7 separate regions of the Homo sapiens genome follow, and regions 1, 2, 3, 4, 5 and 6 are each linked to region 7. The links are contacts of gene promoters, found by promoter capture Hi-C in blood cells and fetal thymus (Javierre and others, 2016). All regions are on one chromosome and are shown on one strand. The core of a region is centred on a gene start or on the middle of the fragment in contact, and the rest is flanking DNA. Distances in the headings are between cores, read along the strand shown.

Region 1 (3,847 bases), core at 70-2,569, 360 kb before region 7:
GAGTCTCTGCTTGATGGAGACAGGCCAGGGAGTGCTCAATAAATGCTCAGGGCCAGGTTTGGGTCTAAGGGTTAGGGCCTGATTGAATTTGACTGCGTATCCCATCCCACCTGGCCCACCCAGGCATGGCGGGGCACCTTGGCGAGGTGGCGCTGCCGGAGGCTGAGGGCTATCTACACCATCATGCGCTGGTTCCGGAGACACAAGGTGCGGGCTCACCTGGCTGAGCTGCAGCGGCGATTCCAGGCTGCAAGGCAGCCGCCACTCTACGGGCGTGACCTTGTGTGGCCGCTGCCCCCTGCTGTGCTGCAGCCCTTCCAGGACACCTGCCACGCACTCTTCTGCAGGTACTACTCTCAGCCCACCACACATTCCATTCAGCTGGCATCCACTGAATACCTTAACCCATCATCCCGGGCCTGCAGTGCCTGGATGGGAGATACACCAGCCCCCTTGATAGGTGGGAAGGTGGATGCTATGCCACATTAGCTGACTGCTCATGTCCCACAGTTGGTGCAGAGCCCTGACCATCTTGGGTACTGTGGTGGGCATTCAAGGTCCAGGGCTGCAGCCTGCAGGGGGAGGCCCATTAGGGCTGGGAAGTAAGGGGATTCTGCATCTGAGCGGGGTCTTGAGGGCTGAGTAGGAGTTCTCCAGAAGGAGGGGCACAGAGCATGCTCAGAACAGGAGGACACTGGGCGACTGCTGGTCCCTGGGTCACCTTCCAGGAACAAGCGTTAGGCACAAGGGGCCAAGGCCAGAGAGGCCGGCAGAGGTTGGGACATGAAAGGCAGGCAGCACCAGGCTGAGGGCTCAGCTTCCTCTGTGGAGAGGGGGCTCAGGGAGCACATGAACACATGGCCAGCATCTGTCTGACTACATGCCCTCTCCCAGGTGGCGGGCCCGGCAGCTGGTGAAGAACATCCCCCCTTCAGACATGCCCCAGATCAAGGCCAAGGTGGCCGCCATGGGGGCCCTGCAAGGGCTTCGTCAGGACTGGGGCTGCCGACGGGCCTGGGCCCGAGACTACCTGTCCTCTGTAAGTGCCAGGCGAGTCCAGGGCTGCCAGGGGGAAGTGGGCTGCCAAAGAGGGCTCTCGGCTAATGCTGTGACCAGGTCCCCTCAGATGTCCTCTCCCAGGCCTGGGGTTGTCTGTCCTGGTGGCCCTGTACCTCAGCCCCCACCAGAGCTCTGCAAGGTCTCATCCTGGGCTTCAGGAGCAGTGGCCTTCGGGGGTGGGTGTGGATGACAGGAGGGCCAGGCTCAGATGCAGCCTAGAAGTCAACACAAGAGGGCTCTGTGCCCTCAGGAAATCCAGGGCTGCTCAGCTCACGCACAAGTCTGTGTGACTCAGTTTCCCGAGATGAAGGATAGCTATGCTGATTCACAGACAGCTGCTATCAATTGAGTCTGGTCCCATGACTCAATCCCAAGCAGCGCCCCCTCCCCTCCATCTGTCCTCAGGCCACTGACAATCCCACAGCATCAAGCCTGTTTGCTCAGCGACTAAAGACACTTCAGGACAAAGATGGCTTCGGGGCTGTGCTCTTTTCAAGCCATGTCCGCAAGGTTAGACAAGGGACAAGGATGGCTTCAGGGCTGTGCTCTTTTTCTAGCCACGTCTGCAAGGTTAGAAGCTGGTGCAGAGTTTTGGGGGGGCACTTGGGAGAAAATGGAGGCAACCCCAGCCCAGGCCCAGCTGCTCCTGACACTCCCAAAACTGTCGCCAGCGGGGAGGGGAGGCAGTAGGGACTGCCGAAGCCTGGGGCCCTGGTGGGTGACAGGGCAGCACCAGCCTGGGTCCAGCCACCTCTCCCACAGGTGAACCGCTTCCACAAGATCCGGAACCGGGCCCTCCTGCTCACAGACCAGCACCTCTACAAGCTGGACCCTGACCGGCAGTACCGGGTGATGCGGGCCGTGCCCCTTGAGGCGGTGAGCAATGTGGGTGGGGAGTAGGGTGCAGCATCTGTGAGGGGCACTGCTGGGCTGCTCAGAGTCCTGCCTCAGTCTTCTCTCCCCTGTTTACCTGAGATGGCCCAGACCATCCTAAAACTCAGCGATGGTGGCACCCGTGCTGAAAATCCTGCAGTGGCTTCCCACGCCCACAGAGTGAAAGGTCCCATCCTGTGATCCCCACCAGCCCAGTCACCCCCCACCCCCACTCTCACACTCTAGCCAAGCCAAATGGTCCCCTCTTCCAACTTGTGCCCAACTGGGGTTCTCCCACCTGGGCATTCTGGGACCTGAGTACCCACCACAATGTTCTGGGCCTCCTGTGGGATACCGTCCCGGCCACTCCGGAACCTTCTGCCGAGCTCTGTGGCCTACTTGCTCCCTTCATTAGCAGCTGCTGTTCCCATAAATTCTCTTTCCCACAAGACGGGGGTAGGGATCAAGGCCAGGCTACCTCTGGGTCTCCCACAGTTTCAGGGGTCCCATGACTGTCCCAATAGAAAGGGCGGTGAGTGCCTTGCTGTGTAATGCCACAGCCCAAAGCCGGCGTGGTTGTTTAAATGCAGTGAAAGTGACCTAGAACTAAAAACGGCTCCTCCAGGCAGTAGCACATGCAAGGGCTTAGCATCCACAGGTGAGCAGTGGCGGCCCTGTTGGACAGCAAGGATCTAGAACCATCAGTCCTGGAGAAAATCGTATTGTGCAGCGTCCCGCCCAAGCTTCCCCCTGTCAGCAGGGCCCCGAGAGGGAGGAGGGGGCGGTGGGGGGCTGGTGGCCCTGGCGAGGGCGGCGCTCCCCGGGTGCGGTTGGGGGTTCGGCAGAGGCTTCCTGGGGAGGGGGTGAGTCCGGCTAGGCTGGGGTGCGGGTTGAGGCGGCTGCACTCTGACCCCGCGCTCCGCTCAGGTGACGGGGCTGAGCGTGACCAGCGGAGGAGACCAGCTGGTGGTGCTGCACGCCCGCGGCCAGGACGACCTCGTGGTGTGCCTGCACCGCTCCCGGCCGCCATTGGACAACCGCGTTGGGGAGCTGGTGGGCGTGCTGGCCGCACACTGCCAGGGGTGAGTGCAGGCTGGGCGGTAGCGGGCACGAAGCCCCGGCCGCGTGGCCGCCCTGACCCCTCCTCCTGCCGCAGGGAGGGCCGCACCCTGGAGGTTCGCGTCTCCGACTGCATCCCACTAAGCCATCGCGGGGTCCGGCGCCTCATCTCCGTGGAGCCCAGGCCGGAGCAGCCAGAGCCCGATTTCCGCTGCGCTCGCGGCTCCTTCACCCTGCTCTGGCCCAGCCGCTGAGCGCCCGCACCCGCCGCACCCCGAGGCCGCCAATTGTCCGCCCCGCCAGCGCTGCAAATAAACCTTCTGAGTCAGCCCTCCTGCTCGCCGCTCCCGCCTCACCCGCAGGGGCTCCGGCCGCCTCCTCGGTCAGGTCCACCTGCGCCCGGCTCACCCGCTGGGGACCCGACTGCAGGAGGCCAGGCGCCCCGGCTAGGGATAGGAGCCCGAGCTCTCGGAGTTAGCGCTATCCAGAGGAAGCAGTGCCCTTTGTGCCCCAGCCTGCCCCGTCCACGCAGTGGTCCCCTGCTCCTCTCCACAGGGCTCCTGGCCTTGTTCCTACCTGGCCACTGGCGAGGGCTTGGGGTTCATCTTCAGGCAGGGCTGGGGAGCACGCCTGGAGACAGAGCTGTCACGGGATGTGGTGCCAAGCCGCCGTGGCCCAGGGCTGACGCTATCCCAGCCGCGAGCTGTCCCTGTCCCTGCTGGATGTGGGTGTCTGAGGCGCTGGGACCGACCTCTGGAGCCTAGTAACTGAAGGACAGGCCCTGCGGCCAGAACTCCCAGCCTCCGGGAGCAGGGCCTGTGCCCTCGAAAGACCCACAGGGAGGCCTTGGGAGACC
Region 2 (4,199 bases), core at 626-3,125, 410 kb after region 7:
CACAACACTATCAATCTATTTCATATCAATGCACTCACTACACGCTTAAAGATAGTGAAGATAAATTTTGTGTACCATTTTACCACAATTAAAAATATTTTTTTAAAAGAACTCAAAGAAGCAGAAAGTTTCAACAAAATAACATTTTTTTTTTTTTACATCCAGCAAGTCCTTGGCAAAGAACTCTCATCAAGAACCAGCTGCACTGAAGCAGGGAAAACAGAATCCAAACGGCAGATTCCATCAGATTTTGAGACAAGATGACCATAGATACCGACCATGTAGGGTCCTCCTTCTTTCGTGCCTGAGTCACCCCAATCCCTCCCACGAATGGTCTGGAAGTGTCTGTGTTACTTCTAACACGTTCCAGCAATTAAAGCGCCCCAGAAACAAGTAAAAGCCTGTAAGCCCTACAGATCCCATGCTTCATTTGCATCTTCCGTGTGGAATCCTTTTGTACCACTAGTGTCCAACTAAAAAGCGTTAAACCTGGCTTTCAGTTCTAGCTGGTTGTGATATAACCTCTTGGTACCTCAGTGACTTCACCCATTAAAAACAAACAAAAAAAAGTATATCACTATCTCTCATACAGAATTGTTGGGAAGCCCCGCAAGAAAATCAAAATATGGCTCTCAAGATGCGGCACCCAAGCTCCCAGAGTCAGAATCACTGGGTGGGAAGTGTTGGTCTAAAATATAAATACCGAGGCCTCAATCTACTAATTCAGAACATCTTGGCATGAAGCTTGGAAATCTGCACTACTTCACAGTCTCCTTAAAATTTTTACACGACAGAAATTTGAAAAACACTGAGTAGAGAACTATATTCTAGAATGGTATAAGCTCTTAAAGAGCTAATGTTGGTTCCTCAAAGGTAGAGTCCACGGCCAGATTCCATTATAGGAGACCAAGCCCGGACAGCAGACCCCGGGCCCTCCCCACCCCGCCCCGCCTCTGACTCGGACACCAGCCTTCTCAGACCCCGGGCACTCGGCCACCCCGCCCTGCCCCTACCCTTGGCCTCCTCCACCCTCCCCTCATCCCTCCGCCGACCCCAGGCCCACTCCGACTCGGACCCCCACCCCAGTCCTCTCCGCCCGACCGCCACGGCCCACCAGCCTGTGCCGCTCACCTGGATCTCTGGAAAAAGCTGAAGGAAGACACATCGTATGCGGCTTTGAGCAGCACCACCTTGGCCTCGCCTTTGTAGAGGACGCTGAGGCTGTACAGCTTCATGGCTCCGCGCCCTCAGGCCGCCCGCCTGCCCAGCTGCGGGACCCGTTCTCAGGGAGCAGCGCGGCCGCCGCCCCTCGGGACCGCCGCCGCCTACCGGCCTCTCAGCAGCCGGCTGCTGACGGGGCCACCGCCGGCTTCCTCCTCCTGGCTCGCAATCCACTTCCGGATCCGGTCAGCCTGGTTGAGGGTTCTCATACTCCGGATGCAGAAATGTGAGCCCGGAAGTACAATGCAGCGAGGGGCGGGATGCCACGCCTCGCGTAAGCTTGGCCCCTCCCTGCTCGCCAGGTGGAGTCGGGCGCGCGGCGGGATACCGTACTGTCTTGTGCTGGGTGGTGCTGGGCCTCCCACAGCGGCCTGAACCCTTCTTTTTTTTTTTTTTCTTTTCTTTCTTTTTTTAAAGTAAGCATTTTTTTTATTATTATACTTTAAGTTTTAGGGTACATGTGCACAACGTGCAGGTTTGTTACATATGTATACATGTGCCATGTTGGTGTGCTGCACCCATTAACTCGTCATTTAGCATTAAGTATATCTCCTAATGCTATCCCTCCCCCCTCCCCCCACCCCACAACAGTCCCCGGTGTGTGATGTTCGCCTTCCTGTGTCCATGTGTTCTTATTGTTCAATTCCCACCTATGAGTGAGAACATGCGGTGTTTGGTTTTTTGTCCTTGCAATAGTTTGCTGAGAATGATGGTTTCCAGCTTCATCCATGTCCCTACAAAGGACATGAACTCATCATTTTTTATGGCTGCATAGTATTCCATGGTGTATATGTGCCACATTTTAGGAGGAGCTTGTACCATTCCTTCTGAAACTATTCCAATCAAAAGAAAAAGAGAGAATCCTCCCTAACTCATTTTATGAGGCCAGCATCATCCTGATACCAAAGGGTGGCAGAGAGAGACACAACAAAAAAAGAATTTTAGACCAATATCCTTGATGAACATTGAAGCAAAAATCCTCAGTAAAATACTGGCAAACCGAATCCAGCAACACATCAAAAAGCTTATCCACCATGATCAAGTGGGCTTCATCCCTGGGATGCAAGGCTGGTTCAACATACGAAAATCAGTAAACGTAATCCAGCATATAAACAGAACCAAAGACAAAAACCACATGATTATCTCAATAGATGCAGAAAAGGCCTTTGACAAAATTCAACAACCCTCATGCTAAAAACTCTCAATAAATTAGGTATTGATGGGACGTATCTCAAAATAATAAGAGCTATCTATGACAAACCCACAGCCAATATCATACTGAATGGACAAAAACTGGAAGCATTCCCTTTGAAAACTGGCACAAGACTGGGATGCCCTCTCTCACCACTCCTTTTCAACATAGTGTTGGAAGTTCTGGCCAGGGCAATCAGGTAGGAGAAGGAAATAAAGGGTATTCAATTAAGAAAAGAGGAAGTCAAATTGTCCCTGTTTGCAGATGACATGATTGTATATCTAGAAAACCCCATCGTCTCAGCCCAAAATCTCCTTAAGCTGATAAGCAACTTCAGCAAAGTCTCAGGATACAAAATCAATGTGCAAAAATCACAAGCAGTCTTATACACCAATAACAGACAGAGAGCCAAATCATGAGTGAACTCCCATTCACAATTGCTTCAAAGAGAATAAAATACCTAGGAATCCAACTTACAAGGGATGTGAAGGACCTCTTCAAGGAGAACTACAAACGACTGCTCAATGAAATAAAAGAGGATACAAACAAATGGAAGAACATTCCATGCTCATGGGTAGGAAGAATCAGTATCGTGAAAATGGCCATACTGCCCAAGGTAATTTATAGATTCAATGCCATCCCTATCAAGCTACCAATGACTTTCTTCACAGAATTGGAAAAAACTAAAGTTCATATGGAACCAAAAAAGAGCCCGCATTGCCAAGTCAATCCTAAGCCAAAAGAACAAAGCTGGAGGCATCACACTACCTGACTTCTAACTATACTACAAGGCTACAGTAACCAAAACAGCATGCTACTGGTACCAAAACAGAGATATAGAGCAATGGAACAGAACAGAGCCCTCAGAAATAATGCCGCATATCTACAAGCATCTGATCTTTGACAAACCTGACAAAAACAAGCAATGGGGAAAGGATTCCCTATTTAATAAATGGTGCTGGGAAAACTGGCTAGCCATATGTAGAAAGCTGAAACTGGATCCCTTCCTTACACCTTATACAAAAATTAATTCAAGATGGATTAAAGACTTACATGTTAGACCTAAAACCATAAAAACCCTAGAAGAAAACCTAGGCAATACCATTCAGGACATAGGCATGGGCAAGGACTTCATGTCTAAAACACCAAAAGCAATGGCAACAAAAGCCAAAATTGACAAATGGGATCTAATTAAACTAAAGAGCTTCTGCACAGCAAAAGAAACTACCATCAGAGTGAACAGGCAACCTACAGAATGGGAGAAAATTTTTGCAACCTACTCATCTGACAAAGGGCTAATATCCAGAATCTACAATGAACTCAAACAAATTTACAAGAAAAAAACAAACAACCCCATCAACAAATGGGCGAAGGATATGAACAGACACTTCTCAAAAGAAGACATTTATGTAGCCAAAAAACACATGAAAAAATGCTCATCATCACTGGCCATCAGAGAAATGCAAATCAAAACCACAATGAGATACCATCTCACACCAGTTAGAATGGTGATCATTAAAAAGTCAGGAAACAACAGGTGCTGGAGAGGATGTGGAGAAATAGGAACACTTTTACACTGTTCGTGGGACTGTAAACTAGTTCAACCATTGTGGAAGTCAGTGTGGCGATTCCTCAGGGATCTAGAACTGGAAATACCATTTGACCCAGCCATCCCATTACTAGGTATATACCCAAAGGATTATAAATCATGCTGCTATAAGGACACATGCACACGTATGTTTATTGTGGCACTGTTCACAATAGCAAAGACTTGGAACCAACCCAA
Region 3 (3,719 bases), core at 186-2,685, 380 kb before region 7:
ACTGTAAAGTGATTGAATGTATTTACTAGGTGCAATACATAAAATACGAGTTTCAAGCACTGCTCTGCTTTTACTTATAGAACCACGTTCTCACTTTTCTAGCCTGATCATTCAAGACCCTTGAACACATCGTCCTTATCTCCCGCTCCTCATTGAGACCCTTCCAGAACACTACAAACTTGTAATACTTAGCTGTATCACCAGCAAACCATGTCCTTCCCAATTTCAGGACCTTTCAATGTGCTTTCCTCTGCCTGGGGGTGGGTGGGGGGTGGAGAGTAGTTTCCTCCCAACCCATGAAACCTCTCCACAAAGGTAGAAGAGACAGAAAACCATTACTGAATAAGTATTAAACCAGATTGTGATGCCGTACATCACATGCAACCTGCTAAAGGCAACACAAAGACAGAAACTCACTTTTTCTATGCAGCTAAGTAGAGATAGCCCATCACATTATGTAGGTTTTGCAATTTGGAGTCAGGTGCCAAGTTAAGCCTTTGTCCTCCTAAGAAGCTGGACTCTTGGCCCTTTCGTCCCTTAACAATTGCATTTTTTTCTTTCTTTGTTTTTGAGACAGAGTCTCGCTCTGTCTCCAGGCTGGAGTGCAGTGGTGCTATGTCGGCTCACTGCAACCTCCGCCTCCCGGGTTCAAGCGATTCTCCTGCCTCAGCCTCCCGAGTAGCTGGTACTACAGGCACGCTTCACCATGCCCAGCTAATTTTTGTATTTTTAGTAGGGACAGAGTTTCACCATGTTGGCCAGGATGGTCTCGATCTCTTGATCTTGTGATCCGCCCGCCTCAGCCTCCCAAAGTGCTGGGATTGCAGGCGTGAGCCACCGCACCCAGCCAACAATTACACTTCAAGGAGATGGCTCCCAAGAAACATTCCTGAGTTGAACCTGGCCATATAAGAAAAAGACTTGAGTACATTTGGAAAGGAGAGAGGCTGAAATTTTGAAAGAAAAAGGGAGGGGGATGGTTTCTCGTCCCTTCTTTTCCTCAGGGAAAATTAAACCCTATGTATAATTTGTATTTGCCCTTCCACCTGCATCACCTTTCCCACATGCTCCCACAGGCAGGCTCCTGTTCATTCCCAAGGCTCCGTGTCCACATCGTGCTTGGATTCCGCCCGGCCCCGCCTGTGCGGCCGCACCAGGAAGGCACCACCCATTAGGGGCTCAGCGCGTCCCTCCAGGCCACGCCGTCAGGCCTCCGTCCTTTTAGCTGTAGGGGCAGATTACGTAACTCCAGCCTTCTGGTCACTAAAGGAGGGTAACAAAGGGCGGTCGAGAGACTCCACTGAGTTGACACGCAGACGCAGCCTCAGGACCCTAAACTCTACGCCCCAGCACACCCTACCAAGCGAGCGCCCGCGGCCGCGTGACGTCATCTACCCCAAACGCTGTGGCCCCGGCCACGCACGGCTTCGGGGCGGGACTACGCGGTGACGTCGAGGTGCGCGGCGCAGCGCGCGGCGTCAGTCTTGGCTGGCAGACCTGTACTCCGTACTCCGTACTTCGTAGTCGCAGCGGCGCGGTCTTCGGCAGTCTAGTCATCCACCGCCATCCTGGGCCCCACGTGTTGCCTGACCATTCCTGAGCCCAGGTAGGGGTCCTGGGGGATTGGGTTCAGTGGCGGGCGGCGTGGGAGGCTGGGCCGCAGTGAGTGGGGGCACCAGTGATTCTTGGAGACCAAGCCTTCACTACACGTGCTACTTCCTCTCAAGAGGCGGTTGAGCGCGTTCGGAACATTTTACCCGGAGGAGACTCGGGGATTACTTGATGAGTAACCTCGTGCTTCTCTTTCAGCCGAGAAGTGGGGCTTCTGCATGACCTGGGTGGACCCCAGTAGGTGGGATGGGACGTGTGGTCAGGAGGGACCTCACCGGAAGGCATGGGGTGGCGTGTAGACCTGCCGCAAGAGAGGCTGTAGAGTGGGCCAGGCGTTGCAAGGAGCTAGAGCTGGATAATGGTTCAGAGGCACAAGCTGAAGCTAACTGCGTTTGGAGCTAACTGCATTTGTTCCCTTCTAGGTGGGAGCCGTGGCTGAGGTGACGGTCTCAAAGTGGAAGAGCTTACTGTCACAGCAACTCCTTTGCAAGATGCCCCGGTAAATCACGTTGCAGAGACCCCAACTCTGCCTTCCTGGAACTAGGCCTGCGTTTTCTCTGAACCATTATTTCATGGGGAAAATGAAATCTACTTCATGTGCCTGGTCTACTTACTCCTTCAGAAGTGATTTCTGAGCCGTAAGATACATGAGAAAAAAATGAAGGGGAAAAGGCAGTATTTATATTAACTACATGATGATAAGGATGTTTCTGGTCACAGTGAAAAGCCATGCTAGAATTGTAGTGTCATAGAATAATGTGGAAGTTTAGTTCGTGTTGTCTGATCTATTTAATAATTTAATAAGGTTATCTCTTCCAAGACACCTTCCCTTCTTCCTCAGCCAGAAAGGATCTTTCCCTGAGAGTCATTAGTAGCTCTGGGCTCCTGGAACCAAGCTCAGGTGCCTAATTGAACTCTGGTCTCTTCCCACAGCCCCCAGCAGGGACTGGTGCTTAGTGAGAGTGGACTGCCAGATTCCTTGAGTGTGGGGGATTTGGGTGAATGAGGGTAGCAAGCCTCCAGCGTGCTTGGGTCTGCGGTGACCCTATGCATTCCTTCAGTGCTTGCTAGAACAGTTTTGAAACGGTTTGAGGCCTTGCCCTGCTCCATCCAGAGCAAGGTTATAGAAATTTCAGACAATGACTTCCTCCCTCCTGGATCTAGTGTCCTGGGCCTTGTATAGATCCGTGCCATCTAATGTGGTAGCCACTTGGCACACATGATTAAATTAAATTTGGAGTTTTATTTCATTTTCACACTAGCCACATTTCAGATGATCAGTAGCCACAGGTGGCCAGTGGCTACCATATTGGACCGCACAGATTAGAGGGCATTTCTGTCGCTGTGGAAGTTGTTTTGGACAATGCTGGTGTGAAAGGTGAAGGGAATCCTGAGTGTTTGCTGTGCTCCAGGCTCAGTACAAATTTTATTTTATTATACACTTAAAGCAAAAGTCTTATAAAAGTTGAGGATGAAGCCAAGAGTGGTGGTAAGGGTAGGAGTTGAAACAGTGAAGAGGAATAACAGGGAAGAGTCCTGCCCTGAGAGACTCATGGAATAGGATATTTACAAGGCAAAGCAAAGAGAACCAAAGTCTCAGTTCTGCAGAGGAGCTGAGTGCCCCAGGAGCTAGTGGAGGGTGAGGTCAATGTGTGCTCATCTTAAAGGAAAAACTCATGGAAGAGGAAGGTGCTAATGTTGAACACCTATTTTGCGCCAGACCTCTTAATTGTTTTAAATCTTTGAGGTATCATCATGAGGTCGTTTTTAAGTTCAGTACAGATGAGGGGCCCAAGGTCAGAATTATGTGTCCAGGGTTGCCCAGCCACAAACCAGCAGATCAGGGTTTGATGCCAGGCCTCTCTAACCCTGCATCCTGAGTGGAATATAGAAGCCGGTGGGAAGTTTGGATGGGAAGGAGATGGATGCCTTCAAGTTCTTGTCTTGGTGTTAGGTGTGTTAAAGGACTGGCTGGGATGAGAAGAGTGTTGCTGGCTTGAGCATAGCACGAGCAGCACAGCTCCTGTGTTCCTCTGGGTGGTGGGGTCACCTCTCTTAAAGGTAGAGGCTTTCAGCTGATTCTGTCTTTTCAGGCCAGGAATAGTTGC
Region 4 (3,680 bases), core at 99-2,598, 330 kb before region 7:
CTCCCAAATTGCTGGGATTACAGGCGTGAGCCATTGCACCCGGCCTTATTTCTTTTTTAAAAAGTCATCCTGGCTGGGCACGGTGGCTCATGCCTGTAATTCCCAGGACTTTGAGAGGCTGAGGTGGATGGATCACGAGATCAGGAGTTCAAGACCAGCCTGGCCAACATAGTGAAACCCCATCTCTACTAAAAATACAAAAAAAAATTAGCAGGGCATGGTGGTGGGCACCTGTGGTCCCAGCTACTTGGGAGACTTAGGCAGGAGAATCGCTTGAATCCGCGAGCCAGAGGTTGTGGTGAGCTGGGATCACACCACTGCACTCCAGCCTGGGTGACACAGCAAGACGCTCAAAAAAAAAAAGTCACCCTGTATACCTTTTGTTTTCTTTCCTTATCTTATTGCATTAGCCAGGTTGCCCAGTACAATGTTGAAAAAGAGTGGTGAGAGGGAACATCCTTGCTTTGTTCCTGATCTTAGTGGGAAAGCTTCAAGTTCCTCATCATTAAATATGGACAATACTCATTTCTATTTCTGCCATCCATTGGGTCTACAGATATCATTAAGTTTAAAACGTGACACAAACCACAGCTTGTGTTGATTAATTCCCCTGAACATTACACATTTCTTATATACTAGATTCTTTCCAACAAATGCATTGTATTTTTAAATTTTGTGTCTTCAAAAGGTCAAATTGATCTTTCTATTTCTTTTGTCACATGAATGTACATGCACAAATATATACGTGCAACATGTATATATGATCATATAGACATATATAGCAACATAGATACAGATGTTACATACATATAACCAGTTTAGCTGAAGAGCTCTAGCTCATCGGCCCCTAATGCAGAGTTTCTGGCAAGTAACTAAGTATGTCTATTCCTGACATCTATGAACAATTTGGGAAATTACCGAAGGTGGGTTTGCAGAACACTGGGCCCACTACAGCACCACCTTCCTCAACCTCCACCTGCTCCTCTCTGATTTGTGGTCCACAGAGGTTTCTCTGGGTCTTTGCTCATTCCCCTTTCCCCAGAGCACAGCTGTCTTGCAAGCACCTCTGGAAACACCTAGGAGAGAGAGTCACAGCCCATTTCTGTGGACATGCCCCAGGGTCACCTTTCTTCAATGGGTCCCACTTTGTGACGTGGCTCAGATTCAGGAGTGGAGAAAGAAGTCTCCAGTTTCCATTTTAGTAACTCAGAGCAGGGTAAGAGGTTTTGTTTTTACAGTGTAGATAAGACCCTGGTAGGCTGCCCAACTCACTCAGTCCTAGGATTGATACCATAATTATTTTAGTCATTGTTCTAATGGCTTCTAATAATGCTTTTATTGGTACAATACCTGCTAAGAAATTTATAGCAGATGGTATCATTAGGTAATGGGAACACACATATCTATAAGTCATGGCCATTGCTTTTTGGTCATTTTCACTAATCCAGACAATTAAGAAAATCCACTTTTATACTTATTCAGAGGTCCCCACTTCTGCTCCCACTGCCGTTCAGCTCAGACTTGTGTCTTGGAGAAGAGTTAATGTGCATGTGTCTGTGAGGGGTGATATGCCATCTCATCCCCTCTATCTTTTTTCCAATGTCTTACCCCCTCAGGGTCTCTCATCCACCTGGGGCCCAGCAATGTTGTGGCTGAAGAGGGGATGATTCTGGTTCCTGCCCAGTTGTGCCCCATCTGTCACTGACGCTGTTAGAGGGTGGGAGATGCAGCAGTCTCAGCTGGCAGGGGGCTTGCTATGTGACCATGCACAGTTTTATTTGGGGGGCTGACCTCTCTCATGTGGAGGACGCCCTTCACCAGAATAGAGCAGCCACGGCCCATGGGCCCCTTGAGACGTGTGTGCCTCCACCTCTTTTCTGTTTGGGGAGCCCTTTGCTCAGCCTGGAGGCCCTCCATGGGGCAGCAGGTCCTCTGCTCCACTGGCTACACCCTATGCTCCATCATTTTAGGCCAGAGAAACACCAGGGCCTCTCCTGTGCCCAGTGAGAAATGCAAGACTCAAATCGGAGTAAGTCCTTGTCTCTAGGGAACAGTACTTCCCATTCTCTTTGCACTCTGCCTCGATTCTTACCCTGCTCCTGCCTTCAGAAGTCTCCAGATGATCAATGCCTGTAAGTCTCACCCTCCTGACTTCATGGGACAGGTGTGCAGGGGAGGGCTGGGAGAAGGGCATTATTCTCAAGCTTCTAGAAAGTCTTTTCTTTGACTCTACTCTCACAGGAGCCTTCTTATAGAATGTAGTTACAAATCTCAAATCGATTTTGGAATTTCTAAAATATGGAGACAGCCTGGAGTATTGACATGGCATTCATGAATGTGCTGGGGAGACTGCCAAGCACCAGCCCAGAGAAAACAGCCTTCAGAATTTCAACTTATTTTGTCACATGTAATTTTATAACACAACCACAAAGTTTCCTTGGCTATTCAAAGAATCAATTCAGTAATTTTTTTTTACATTTATTTATTTTTCTATTTGCAAGACAGTTGTCTGTTAAGAGATGACGCTCACAAAACTTTTAAACTATGATAGATTTCAGTAAAATCACTGAATACTAAAATATAATAAAACATTAGGGCCAGGCACAGTGTCTTACGCCTGTAATCCCAGCTACTCAGGAGGCTGAGGCAGAAGAATCACTTGAACCCAGGAGGCAGAGTTTGCAGTGAGCTGAGATTGCACCATTGCACTCCAGCCTGGGGAACAAGAGCGAGTCCTCATCTCAAAAAAAAAAATTAGACTACAAAAAGCAATCAAACTCGATGCTCCCAGATAGCCTGCTCTCTGACAGTGAGTGAAGGAGCCCAGAATGTCTCCTCTAAGCTGCAGACCCCACAGTTTACTCTTTCCAAGCAATGAGCTTATTGGAGCTTATTTGAAATAAAAGGCTGCTGCATGTTCCTGTGGTCACCCACAATTCTCAGAATGACTGCCAGGTCATGGTGCAGCCATGACAGTGCTGTGACCCTGACTCTGTTCTGTGAGGTTGCATGAGGGACACCAGGTCAGTCACAGGCTGCCAGACCCAAGAACAGGGGACGAGCGGTCCTGGGCCGTCTCTCTACAAGGGCTGCTGTGCCAGTGTCAAACCTGAGAATTCCTAAAGCTTCAAAGAGGGCTACGAAGCACAGATGCCAGCCCCAGGACTTACAAGAAAGTATAACCTCTTTTCTAAAACGGTTCCCCCCAAATAAACAGGGAAGAAGCCAATCCAACAAAAGCATCCATTCTAAAGACTCACCTTGGGAGAACGATATCATGGGAGTAAAAGCAGTTATCGCCATTCCTTAACTCACGCCCCTGTTTCTACACACATCACGTTTGAGATCACAGTCATTGATAATTGTCATCTTATCAATAAAAGCATAACACAATTAACAACTATTTCATGTAACAGTTACTGGCTTGACACTAGGCCCAGGTGTAGACAGAGAGATATCTATTTGCATGTACCTGTGATCACCTCCATCAGAGATAGTTCACTGTCATGGACAGCAGCCTTCTTGGTGTCATGAATTTCTTGGCGAATTGGCTGAGTTCAAATGTGGATCTTATGTTTCCCTCTCTCTGTGCCCTGCCAGAACTCTGTGGGAGGGGTCTGTGGTCAGTATCCTCTTTGCTTCCTTCCTTCCCTGCCCCTTAGGGAGTTGATGGCAGGCTT
Region 5 (4,045 bases), core at 1,177-3,676, 480 kb before region 7:
AGTTTGTTTTTTTTTTTTTTTAATAATTTTTACCAGGCTGGGTGTGGTGGCTCACACCTGTAATTCCAACACTTTGGGAGGCCAAGGTGGGTGGATCACGAGGTCAGGAGTTCAAGACCAGCCTGGCCAACAGGGTGAAACCCCGTCTCTACTAAAAATACAAAAATTAGCCAGGCATGGTGGGACCTGTAGTCCCAGCTGCTCGGGAGGCTGAGACAGTAGGATCGCTTGAACCCGGAAGACAGAGGTTGCAGTGAGCCGAGATCATGCCACTGCACTACAGACTGGTCAAAAGAGCAAGACTCCATCTCAAATTAAAAAATTAAAATTAATAATAATAATTTTTACCAGTTTCACTGGGGAGCTGCTCAGCAGAACTCCCCATGCTTTCATTCTGGAAGTCAATCTGCCTTTTATTTCTTCTTGCTTTATTGCAAGGTTTAGAAATTCCAATAATATGTTGAAAAGAGTGGTGAGTGCGGACACCCTTGCCTTGTTCCCAATCTTAAAAAGCATTCAGTCTTTCACCATTAAGTATGATGTTAGCTGTATAAGTTTTTTATATAAGATCTTTATCAAGTTTATTTTTAACTTGCTGAAAGTGTTTTTTTTTAAATCATGAATGATGTTGGTTATGTCAAACACATTTTCTGTGTCAACTGATACCAAAATTTTTCTTCTTTAGCCTGTTGGTGTTCTGGAGTATTGTTGATTGATTTTCAACTGTCAAACCAGCCTTGCATACGTGGAATAAATTCCACTTGGTCATGGTGTATTTTTTTTATACATCATTATATTTGATTTGCCAATATTGAGAATTTTTGTGCCTGAATTCATGAGAGATGCTGGTCTGCAGTTTTCGTTTTGGGGGTCTTGGGGTGTATTGACACTTTGTTAGTTTTTTTTTTTTTTTTTTTTTTTTTGAGACGGAGTCTCGCTCTGTCGCCCAGGCTGGAGTGCAGTGGTGCGATCTCGGCTCACTGCAACCTCCGCTTCCCGGGTTAACGCCATTCTCCTGCCTCAGCCTCCTGAGTAGCTGGGACTACAGGAGCCCGCTACCACTCCCGGCTCATTTTCTGTATTTTTAGTAGAGACGGGGTTTCACCACGTTAGCCAGAATGGCCTCGATCTCCTGACCTCGTGATCCGCCAGCCTCGGCCTCCCAAAGTGCTGGGATTACAGGCGTGAGCCTCCGCGCCTGGCGACACATTGTTAGTTTTGACATCAGGATATTTCTTGCCTTATAAAATGAGTTAGGAAGTGTCCCCTTCTCTTTTGTTTTCTGGAAGAGATTGTTTGAAGTTGATGTTAATTCTAATGGTGTGGTGTGTCTGACTCCTGGGGTACAGCGGGGAGAGATGCCCAGCAGGCAGCCAGGTGTGTAGCACTGAGCCTTGAGGCAGGTCTGGGGGAGTCAGAGGGCAGCCCCTGGCTTCATGAGCTCAAAGTTAGAACCCACAGAAGACTGAGGATGTTGAAACCTCCCTCCCTGCCTGTGACAATGGCTACTCTGATTCCCCCCACCCCAGTCAGGGGTGATGACAATGTCTCATTCATCTGTCTCCCTGGTGCCTGGCACGGGGGAGGAGGGGTGCTCAGTGAATCTGGGTGGCGCAGTAGCCTGTGTGAAAGCAAGAGGCATTTCAGGAAATTCACGGGGCGGGCTTCCTCCTGGGAGGTGTGGCAGAGGGTGCTGCCAGGAATAGAGGGAAACACTTTCTTCCTTTTCCTTCTACTGCCTAGTGTGGGGGTGGAGGGGAGATGATAGGACAGATCACCGAGTTGCCTAGAGACCTGGAGACCGACCCATCCGGGTCGCCTTCCCTGGTGCGCTCTCGTCGGCTCCATCCCTGGTTGCCATGGAGACAGGAGGCGGTTGCCACGGAGACCGACGACTGCCAGGACCAGCCAATCACTCCAGAGCTGCAGCTCCAGCTCACCTTTTGCATGGAGGCATCGGGCTGGGCGGGGCCCCCTCCCTCCCCAGGCCCTGCACCCTCTGCTTGGTCAGCGGGGAAGGAGGCTGCGCCGCCAACTCCACCCAAAGCGCTCCGAGCATCCCAGAATCCCAACCACCTCCCCAGCCTCCCACAACCAGGGTTCTAGGGGCGTCCCCGCCTCTTCCTGGCCACGGGCGAATGCCACCCTGAGGCAACCCAGCTTCCAATTGGCCCTGAAACCCTCCCTCGTAAATGCTGTGGAAAGGGTGGGACCGGGCGCAGGCGCCCACCCCCGCTCCCCCACGAAACCGCCCACAGCGAGAGGGAGGCCACAGCCGGGTGGGGTGGGGGCGGGGAGGGAGCCCCCCCTACGCCCTCCGCAGTGCCTGGCGAGCCCGCGCACGCTCACTCGCTGGGACAGGCGGGCGGGGCGGCCTGACGTCACCCACTGCCCCCACCGCCCGGCCGAGGGGCGGTGGCCGCGCAGGCTCGGCGGGGCGGCGGCACGGACTGACGGAGGGTCGGAAGGACTGAGGGACGGGCGGGCGCACGGCCAGGCCATGCCTGGGGAGGCTGCCCGCGCCGAGCTGCTGCTGCCCGAGGCGGACCGACCCGGGCCCCGCACAGGTGAGGCCGTGGCCACTCTTTCCCTGCCTTCAGCCTCTCCCCTCTCCAGCCCGGGTTCTCTTTCCATCGCTCACCTTTCACCCCTCTCCCCCATCCCCCTGGCCCCCCTCGAGTCCCCTCCCCTTTCCGCGCCCTGTCCTTCCCTCCATCTGAACCCTGCTACCGCCTCTCTCAGAACTGCGGGGAAGGTGGGGCGCACGAAGTGCCCGCCGCGAGCCAGAAAGAACGTGGGGGCTTAAGCCCTTGGCTTCCGACCCAGGGATCGTGGGGCTCGCATCCCGCCCGCTGCATCCCGTTGTTTGCACCGAGCTGCCAGCCTGCTGGGGCTGGGCCGCTCTGGACAGAGGCAGCGGGTTCTGGAGGCGGGGTGTCCGGCTGATACCCCCAGTACGATCAGGTGACCACCGGGAGGGTCCTCAGTTGCACCCGGTCTGTCCTGGGCCGGCGACTGGTCATGGCTCTGGAGGGAGGAGCAGGACTGGCCAGAGCCTAGGAAGCCCGGATGGAGGGCCAGGTGGTGGAATAAAGCCTAAGTTGGGTCTGGAAGGTGGAAGGCCTTGGGGGAGGTGGCCTGATTAGCAATGGCCCTGGGTGTGCAGACCACCTGTCCTTAGGCTGGGTCAACAAATGCTGGTGGAGGCTGATGGGGTCTACGGGGCCTAGAAAGAGCCGAGCCTGGACAGTCCTGGCGTGGAGGTCAGCCATGTGTGGGTAGGGCCAAGGGCACCTTGCTGTGGGCAAGAAGTCACCCAGAGATGGGACCACTGCTGGGGCCTGGGGCCTGGTTTGGGGTGACACAGGCTGCTGCCTCTGCTCTAGGTGGGAGGCAGGGAGTGCAGGCCCAGACTTCCCAGCCCCAGGGTCTTGTGCTGGCTCTGTTCTGGCTTGCTTGGTGACCTTGAATGAGTTATAAAAACCTTTGGCCTTTGGTTTCTGCTCCATCCCAACAGCTCAGCCGTTCCCCTGCCCTGGGGGCCACACCAGGGGCCAGAACCAAGAGCCCAGCTTCAGGGCACCCAGTGATGCCCCACCAGCCACGCCCACTCCTGATGTTGGGTGTCAGGCATGCAAGAACCCAAAGGACCCCCTTGTCTCAGGACCCCCTGGATGTCCCATCACCCCAGCAGCAAAGCCCTTGGGTGACAAGTTTTGGCTGGTGGTTCAGGGCTCAGGGCTCTGATGCTGCTGAGGGGAGCTGGAGCAGCCTGGCAACAGGGTCCCCCTTCTTTCAGCTTCAACTCTAATCCTGGCTCTGCTTTGTAGATGAGAAAGCTGAGGTGCAAGAGATGTTGTCCTGGTCACCAGTGAGTGCGGGAGAGCAGGAGCCACCAGGCAGGCATCTGCAGCCTGGAGAGCTGGCCCCTGTGTGCCGCCGCTCCCCCACCTTGGGCAAGACCTGGCCTGGGCTCTGAAGGGCCTTCATTGGATGCTTCAAACAGAGGTGCCTTTGGCCTAGGTCCAAGTGAGGGAGTGGACAT
Region 6 (4,246 bases), core at 367-2,866, 430 kb before region 7:
ACCTCTAACCAAGAAGCCCACACCAAATCAACAGGTCCCACAAACCACATGCAACCTACACTGTTATTTTAATGTTGATGTACAGGTCATAAAATTATAGTCTCCACACAGAATTACAGTCTGCACTGGGAAGGACTCTGGCGCTCCCCCGTCCTACAATCCCACCCCTAAAGAGAGACCCTCTGCAGTTAGGCAGTGAGAAATAGTAGGAACTCTTGCAGGGCAAGGAAACCAGGACGGCCATCTGTAGATGCCTCTTATTGCCCAAGCATCACATCAATTCTTCCCTACATCGAGCTCAGCTCTTTCCTCCTCTGGCCTTTGCTCTTTTTTTTTTTTTTTTTTTTTTTTTTTGAGACGGAGTTTTGCTCTTGTCACCAAGGCTGGATGGAGTGCAATGGCATAATCTTGGTTCACTTAACTTCTGCCTCCCCGGTTCAAGCAATTCTCCTGCCTCAGCCTCTGGAGTAGCTGGGATTACAGGCACCCACCACCATGCCTGGCTAATTTTAGTATTTTTAGTAGAGATGGGGTTTCAACATGTTGGCCAGGCTGGTCTCAAACTCCCAGCCTCAGGTGATCCACCAGCCTCAGCCTCCCAAAGTGCTGGAATTACAGGCATGAGCCATTAGGCCTGGCTGCCCTTGGCTCTTACCCAGCAGCCAGCATGGAGCTTGCACAGACTGGACAGCAATAAACGCTGGTACTGACTCTTGATGGAACGCTTGGACCAGGCTAGGCATCTGGGGAGGCCCTTTGGTTAGAGGTGACACAGCCCCTGCCCTCAACGATGTCACAGTCAAGCCGAAGTAGTAAGACCAGAGTAAAGTAACTGAAATTAAATCCACAGTAAAAACAGTCAATCAATGCTGAAGACACACAGGATGCTCCAAAGGTACACTTAGGGCTCAGCCACCCTGTTCTTAAAGCTGCTGTTCTGAGCAGCAAGAGACAAGGAGAGGAATGAACAGGAGATACAACCTTCTGACTGCTCACAGACTAGCAGAGGAGGGCGACCCCGGAACGCCAAAGATAGGGCATGCCAAGGCGCTTCAGAGGAACCTGCCCCTTCTACCTGGGCCTCCAAATCACGAACATTTTAACAAGCAGATTCTGTGGACTACTTGGAGGCAGGCGTCTCTCTGGCCCTAGTCCTTAGTCTTCAATAGCAGCTACCCTAAGTTTCTTTTTTTAATGTCTCAAATAATTTTAATTGATGGGTAAGCCTTCCTAGAAAGTGGAATATTAACACTATTAAGTAAAGAAATGCATCTTTGCACATCTGCTGCAGCCTCCCTCTGCCACTCCTACCCATTCAGCACGGAATGCAGGGTAGCTGCTGTTCTCGCTGAGGATGATGGGGCTTTTCAGAGGTAATGTTTGCTCAGCTCTCAGCTGCAGGGGGTGGTAGGAGGGACAGCCGGTGCTGGGGAAGAGCTCTCTGCTATTCCAGATACAAAACTGAACAAGAAGCCACCTCAGATTTTTGGAAAAGAAGTTGCTTTTGAACACAAAATTTAAGCTGATGGCTGGGCGCAGTGGCTCACACCTGTAATCCCAACACTTTGGGAGGCCAAGATGGGAGGATCACTAGAGTCAGGACTTCAAGACCAGCCTGGGCAACAGGGTGAGACCTCATCTTTTAAAAAAAATACAAAAATTAGAACATAAAAATTAGCAGGACATGGTGGCACACACCTGTAGTCACAGCTACTTGGGAGGCTGAAGTGGGAGGATCACTTGAGCCTAGGAAGTCAAGGCTGCAGTGAGCTGTGATCACACCACTGCACTCCAGCCTGGGTGACAGAGCAAGACCATCTCAAAACAAATAATAATTATTAATTAAAAAGAAAAAAGCTGAGCGTGGTGGCATACGTCTGTAGTCCTAGCTACCTGAAAGACTGGGGGGAGAGAATCACTTGAACCCAGGAGCTCAAAGCTGCAGTGGGCTATGACTGCCCGCTGCACTCCAGCCTAAGTGACTAAGCAAGGCCCTCTTTTTTTTTTTTTTTTTTTTGACCTGGAGTCTCACTATACAGCCCAGGCTGGAGTACAGTGGTGTGATCTCGGCTCACTGCAACCTCCACCTCCCGGGCTCAAGCGATTCTCCTGCCTCAGCCTCCCGAGTATCTGGGATTACAGGTGTGCACCACCACACCTGGCTAATTTTTGTATTTTTATAGAGATGGGGTTTCACCATGTTGGCCAGGCTGGTCTCAAACTCCTGACCTCAAGTGATCTACCCACCTCGGCCTCCCAAAGTGCTGGGATTACAGGTGTAAGCCACTGCACCTGGGCAAGGCCCTGTTCTCTTTAAATCTAAAAAAAGAAAGAAAATAAATTTAAAGGAAAGTTCTAGTTAAAAAATAAATCGAGGCCAGGTGCAATGACTCACGCCTGTAATCACACCACTTTGGGAGGCTAAGGCAGGTGGATCACCTGAGGTCAGATGTTCAAGACCACCCTGGCCAACATGGTGAAACCCCGTCTCTACTAAAAATACAAAAATTAGCCGGGCATGGTGGTGCACACCTGTAGTCCCAGCTACTCGGGAGGCTGAGGCAGGAGAATTGCTTGAACCTGGGAGGTAGCAGTTGCAGTAAGCCAAGATCACGCCACTGCACTCCAGCCTGGGTGACAGAGTGAGACTCCGTCTCAAGAAAAAAATAAATAAAATAAATTGAGGGCAGGCACAGTGGCTCACACCTGTAATTCCAACACTTTGGGAGGCCAAAGCAAGAGGATCGCTTGAGGCCAGGAGTTCAAGACCAGCCTGGACAACATAGCGAGACCTGTCTCTAAAAAATATTAAAAATTAGCCTGTAGTTCCAGGCACTCAGGAGGCTGAGGTGGGAGGATCACTTGAGCTTGGGAGGTTGAGGCTGCAGTGAGTTGTGATCACACCACTGCACCCAGCCTAGGAAACAGAGTGAGACCCTGTCTGGAAGGAACGAGGGAAATAATTAAATGGTTTAGCATATTTTTAATGTACAGAATCAGGATTCCAGTAAACCATCATGGGTTCTTTAACTCACTAGAATGTACTATAGATGGACACATAGAATTTAAAAGGTGGGATTAGCCCAGGCAACCATTCTTCATTCAACATGTATTTGATTGAGTATGCCTGTTCATCACCACTAAATGATCTTGTCACCTTTGAACCTCAGAGACCAAAGGACCAATTCAGTCCCCAGAAGGAAACCAGGCTAAGTGCTATTTCTCTTCCATGAGTGGAGTCCCAGCACCAAAGTGAGGTGTGGAGTCTATCCCAGCCTAAGTCTCTCCTGAAGAAACTGAGGCTGTGAGGGTCGAAGGGACCTGCCAGAGTCCACAGTACGGAGCCAGGAGGAGGGAACACAGGGCTCTGAGTCACCATGCAGCGCTGTGCAAAGACATCCATATGGAATATATGCCACCTCAGATAACTATACAGAACTTTCTAAACTCACTCTGGAAGATGCCTAGATCCTTACAAATTCTTACAAAGTTAACGTCTTAAGCTTAAAACAACTCTTAAAGTTGGAAACCTAAAATGTACTTCTGAGTTAAAAAACTAAAACTAAATCTGGCCTACTAGGGCTTACCTAGTGAGAATGCCCTCCTCACACAAAGCCAAGGCTCAGGCTCTGGGCAAGGCTGGCCCTCAGATGCCAACTGCGGGTCTTGAGTTTTGTTAAATCTGAAGCTCAACATTATCAGCTCACTTGGGTGAACAGGATCTGGAGTAACTGGATCTGCTCAACAAATTCTCAGAAACTAACTTATAAGTCAGGGCACCTGTTTATTAATTTACAAGGAGAAATGAATCCACTAAAAGAACCAGCAAAAGCAGACTCATGAAACAGTGGCCTCTACTTGGGGACCAAAGTAAATAGTATGGCTATACCTTCTAGCTGCATTCTCCATGCAAAACATTGAGCTCAGTATTACTCTGGAGAAAGTGCTAAAAAGTCTATGAAGGAAGAAAGAGAAGAACACTTAGTCACACTGAGCAGTACCCAGCATGTCTCTGCTACAGGGTTCAGGCATTTTCATTTGCGCAAATTATTTAACCCTTATGAATAAACTACAAGGTGGGTTTTATCTAATAAAACAAAACCGCCTCTGAACAAAGATGTTTAAAGTATTATAAAAAGGCCTAGGTATCCTTAAGGCCAACATTCAGTACATCTCATGAGTATTCACTATGCGCCAGACACTGGGGCTGTAGAAGCCACCGTCCCTGCCCCCAGGGAACCCCCAG
Region 7 (3,694 bases), core at 870-3,369:
TAGTTTTTTCTTTCCTTTTTTTTTTGAGATGGAGTCTTGCTCTGTCGCTCAGGCTGTAGTGCCGTGGCGCCATCTCGACTCGCTGCAACCTCTGCCTCCTGCGTTCAAGCGATTCTCCTGCCTCAGCCTCCTGCTGAGGCTGGAGGAGCTCAGCCTGTAGCTGAGACTACAGGCCCACGCCACCATGCCCTGCTAACTTTTGTATTTTTAGTAGAGACAGGGTTTCACCATGTTGGCCAGGCTGGTCTCAAACTCCCAACCTCAGGGGATCCACCCACCTCGGCCTCCCAAAGTGCTAGGATTACAGGCGTGAGCCACTGCGCCCGGCCTTTTTTTTTGAGACAGGATCTCACTGTGTCACCCAGGCTAGAGTGCAGTGGGGCAATAATGGCTCACTGCAGCTTGGACCTCCCTGGCTCATGCCATCCTCCCGCCTCAGCCTCCTGAGTAGTTGCGACTACAAGTATATGTGGTATATGCCACCATATCCGGATAATTTTATTTTTTGTAGACGCCGGGTATCACTTTGGTTGCTCAGGCTGGTCTCCTTGAACTGAGCTCAAGGGATCTTCCTTTCACACTCCCAAAGTGTGGGGATTACAAACGTGAGCCACCACGACTGGCCGAAATTGTGCACGTCAAATGGGTGAATCGTATGGTATGTGAATTTTATCTCAATAAAGATGTTATTTAAAGGGAAAAAGTAACTGAAATGTGAAAAGTGCGCTTAAAAAAAATAATGAGGGGCCGGGCGCAGTGGCTCACGCCTGTAATCCCAGCACTTTGGGGGCCGAGGCGGGCGGATCACCTGAGGTCAGGAGTTCGAGAATAGCCTGGCCAAGGTGGTGAAAACCCGTCTCTACTAAAAATACAAAAATTAGCCGGGCGTGATGGCGCGTGCCTGTAATATCAGCTACTTGGGAGGCTGAGGCAGGAGAATCACTTGAACCCAGGAAGGCAGAGGTTGCAGTGAGCCGAGATCGCGCCACAGCACTCCAGCCTGGGCGACAGAGACTCCATCTCAAACAAGACAACAACAACAAAAAATGAGCATACAGTGATCTTTATTCAACTTCCCAAGATCCAGTCCTCAGCTAATTTACAAAACTACAATAGTGTTACATACTCTCCTAGGTCTACACGGCAAAGTACAGTTTGACTGTTGCAACTAGTGCTGCCTTACAAAAAAAGGCTTTATCCCATGCCACCCATCCTAAACCCAGCTGTTCAGAGCAGTGTACCTGGAAATCAGCCTCAAAGTACGGACTGCAAGACAAGGCACAAGGAAACCCTAACACGAAGTCCTATGTTCTGGGCAAAGGGATGGGGATGGCAGGTGGGACGCACCCAGGTCAGGGCGAGGGCGCGGCAAGTTTTCTATTAAATCTCAGTAGATTACAACTCATATCCAATGTCTGATATATTTTCGAGGGAAAATGGTGCTTGAAAGATGTTTCTACGAGAAATAAGCTTCATCTCGGTCAATCTGTTCGACCCAACTTCTGGCAGCAGGTGTGGGGGCGGCGCCAAGGTCTGCGCGGTAATCCAAACAGGCAGTCCCACCCAGGGCCACCCCAAAGCCAGATGCTCCGACGCAACTCGAGCAGGCCACACTGTCTTTCGGACAAAGCGACGCGGTCCTCACAGGCGGGAAGGAGAGTGCGTCCCGGTCGGGAAGGACGCCGTCGGAGAGCGGCCTAACCACGTGACGCCCGCGGCGACCTTGGGGGTCACCCCTGCGGACGCACCGCCCTCTCCCTCACATCCGCCGCCGCGCCCGCCCCCCGCTCGCCCACCGCCAATGGCGCGTCGCTCCGCGCCCCGCGCGACCTCGGAGCCCGCCCGTACCCGCCAATCTCCGCCCGCCGGGCAGGCCCCGCGGCTCCATTGGCTGCCACGGCCATCCATCAGGTCCCGTCCCTCCTACCACCCTCCGTGAGCCCCACTCCATCCAGCTCCACTCCCCTGTCACCGCGGCGCCCGCAGCACCAAGGGCGCGGCGGCCTCCCCCTTTACCGCGATCTCCAACCCCGGGCCGCCAAGCGCCGCGACACCCGGCACTGGGACGGGCGCGGCGACAGCGCACGGTTACCTGTCTCCGGCTCAGCTCCACCCGAATGAGGCGCCGACACCCCACTCCGGGGCTCCAAACTCTCGGCCCCGCCCCGGCGTATGGCGTCAACACGTAGCCCTCCCCTGGAGAAGAATGCCCTCCCCTCTTACAGAGGACCGATTCGTGACGTCACAGAGCCGCGCCGGGCGTCACAGCGCCGACTGCGCAGTTGCAGAAGCCAGGGCCAGCTGGAGCCCAGCTGTTTGCTCCGCTAGAGAGATGAGGTTGTCTATGGACTTCCAGCGGCTTCTGCTATCATAAATAATTTCTGAAAGTAAGATATCTCTAGCGCCTGGTAGGAACCTATCAAGAGATAGTTGGGTTGATGTGAAACTTAGCGCACAAAAATAAACAATTTGAATAACAGAATCTCCGTTTTTGAGATTGTCCTGGGTCAGGCTTTGTGACAAGCGCTTCACCGGCGCTATTGTGTAACAATCTGTGAGACAGGTGTTCCTATCCCCGGTCTACAAATGACAGTTGGCAGTGCTGGGATCTTGCCCGGGATCTTGCCTGGGTTTTCTTGACTTTAGAGCTACCTATCAAAGATAAAACGTGGCTAATTAACCTGTCACAACCTGTTGATTGTAAGATGTTCCCTATTTTAAAGTATTAAAATTTGGGGAAAGGCCGGGCGCGGTGGCTCACGCCTGTAATCCCAGTACTTTGGGAGGCCGAAGCGGGCGGATCACTTGAGGTCAGGAGTTCGAGACCAGCTTGACCAACATGGGGAAACCCCGTCTCTACTAAAAATACAAAAATTAGCTGGGCGTGGTGGCGATCCCAGCTACTCGGGAGGCTGAGGCAGGAGAGTCGCTAGAACCCGGGAGACGGAGGTTGCGGTGTGCCGAGATCGTGCCATTGCACTCCAGCCTGGGCAACAAGAGCGAAAATCCGTCTCAAAAAACAAACAAAAAAAGGGGGCGTATAAGTGCTTATTATAGAACAAAGTTAGGGTAATGTATGTGACAAGGATCTAGAGACTGGAAGAGGTGAAGAGACCAAGGAACAAACTTCTGTATTCTTTTTTCCTTTTTTTTTTTTAAATAAATTACGGTAAAAATGTATGTACTAAACATTTGCAGCTGGGTGCAGTGGCTCACGCTTGTAATCCCAGCACTTCGGGAGGTGGAGGCGGGAGGATCGCTTGAGCTCAGGAGTTCCAGATCAGCCTGGGGAACAGAGCAAGATCTCATTTCTACTAAAAAATCAAGAAAATTAGCCAGGTGTAGTGGCACTCACCTGTAGTCTCAGCTAATTGGGAGGCTGAGGCAGGAGGATCTCTTGAGCCTGAGAGATTGAGGCTGCAGTGAGCTATGATTGTACCACTGCACTCCAGCCTGGGCCAGAGAGCAAGATACTGTCTTTTTTTTTTTAATGCCATTTTAACCATTTTTAGGTGTATAACTCAGTGGCATTAATTACATTCACAATATTATGCAACCGTCACCACTCAATTTCCAAAACTTTTTCATCACCTGAAACAGCAACTCTGTAACCATTAAGCAATAACTTCCTATTTCCCCTTCTCCTCCTGTCCTTCTCTCCTTTGGTAACCTCTATTATACGGTCTCTATACAT

Evidence for each region. Contacts are between HindIII fragments. The CHiCAGO score rates a contact against its expected background, and 5 or more counts as called.
Region 1: a contact is called between a fragment that was not itself captured here and the fragment with the promoter of OGDH in region 7, in 2 of 17 cell types (monocytes and fetal thymus). The highest score is 5.6, in monocytes.
Region 2: a fragment that was not itself captured here is called in contact with the fragment with the promoter of OGDH in region 7 in 1 of 17 cell types (fetal thymus); the score reaches 6.2 in fetal thymus.
Region 3: the fragment with the promoter of SNHG15 here is called in contact with the fragment with the promoter of OGDH in region 7 in 4 of 17 cell types (total B cells, fetal thymus, neutrophils and 1 more); the score reaches 9.7 in total B cells.
Region 4: a contact is called between a fragment that was not itself captured here and the fragment with the promoter of OGDH in region 7, in 2 of 17 cell types (activated CD4 T cells and erythroblasts). The highest score is 6.3, in activated CD4 T cells.
Region 5: the fragment with the promoter of NACAD here is called in contact with the fragment with the promoter of OGDH in region 7 in 12 of 17 cell types (naive B cells, activated CD4 T cells, total CD4 T cells and 9 more); the score reaches 9.3 in naive B cells.
Region 6: a contact is called between a fragment that was not itself captured here and the fragment with the promoter of OGDH in region 7, in 1 of 17 cell types (naive CD4 T cells). The highest score is 5.7, in naive CD4 T cells.

The regions. Positions count from the first base shown.
Region 1 is chr7:44,962,137-44,965,983 of GRCh38, reverse strand. It overlaps MYO1G (myosin IG), which reads left to right. Exons shown (of 22, transcript NM_033054.3): 17 at 124-347; 18 at 895-1,039; 19 at 1,465-1,569; 20 at 1,822-1,935; 21 at 2,860-3,014; 22 at 3,089-3,322. The coding sequence ends at 3,245. Among named protein-coding and RNA genes, the nearest start is that of MYO1G, 15 kb to the left of the region's middle. RefSeq lists an enhancer at 3,294-3,794. The HindIII fragment of the contact is 2,717 bases long and covers 1-2,677 here.
Region 2 is chr7:44,198,172-44,202,370 of GRCh38, reverse strand. It overlaps YKT6 (YKT6 vesicular SNARE protein), which reads right to left and starts at 1,393. Exons shown (of 7, transcript NM_006555.4): 1 at 1,132-1,393. The coding sequence starts at 1,235. RefSeq lists a silencer at 1,217-1,286. The HindIII fragment of the contact is 745 bases long and covers 1,503-2,247 here.
Region 3 is chr7:44,984,412-44,988,130 of GRCh38, reverse strand. It overlaps SNHG15 (small nucleolar RNA host gene 15), which reads left to right and starts at 1,435. Exons shown (of 3, transcript NR_152597.1): 1 at 1,435-1,606. SNORA9 (small nucleolar RNA, H/ACA box 9) reads left to right here and starts at 2,621; the gene lies at 2,621-2,753. RefSeq lists enhancers at 842-1,589, 1,625-1,744, 1,590-2,336 and a silencer at 2,863-3,043. The HindIII fragment of the contact is 12,531 bases long and covers 1-3,719 here.
Region 4 is chr7:44,935,792-44,939,471 of GRCh38, reverse strand. No RefSeq gene overlaps it. Among named protein-coding and RNA genes, the nearest start is that of MYO1G, 41 kb to the left of the region's middle. The HindIII fragment of the contact is 1,716 bases long and covers 491-2,206 here.
Region 5 is chr7:45,087,350-45,091,394 of GRCh38, reverse strand. It overlaps NACAD (NAC alpha domain containing), which reads left to right and starts at 2,426. Exons shown (of 8, transcript NM_001146334.2): 1 at 2,426-2,567. The coding sequence starts at 2,501. The HindIII fragment of the contact is 4,426 bases long and covers 1-4,045 here.
Region 6 is chr7:45,029,153-45,033,398 of GRCh38, reverse strand. The region is part of intron 1 of CCM2 (CCM2 scaffold protein); the gene reads right to left. Among named protein-coding and RNA genes, the nearest start is that of CCM2, 31 kb to the right of the region's middle. The HindIII fragment of the contact is 3,779 bases long and covers 1-3,505 here.
Region 7 is chr7:44,605,052-44,608,745 of GRCh38, reverse strand. OGDH (oxoglutarate dehydrogenase) reads right to left here and starts at 2,119. Exons shown (of 23, transcript NM_002541.4): 1 at 2,093-2,119. RefSeq lists enhancers at 1,130-1,469, 1,145-1,708, 1,960-2,559 and a silencer at 1,690-1,919. The HindIII fragment of the contact is 8,395 bases long and covers 1,473-3,694 here.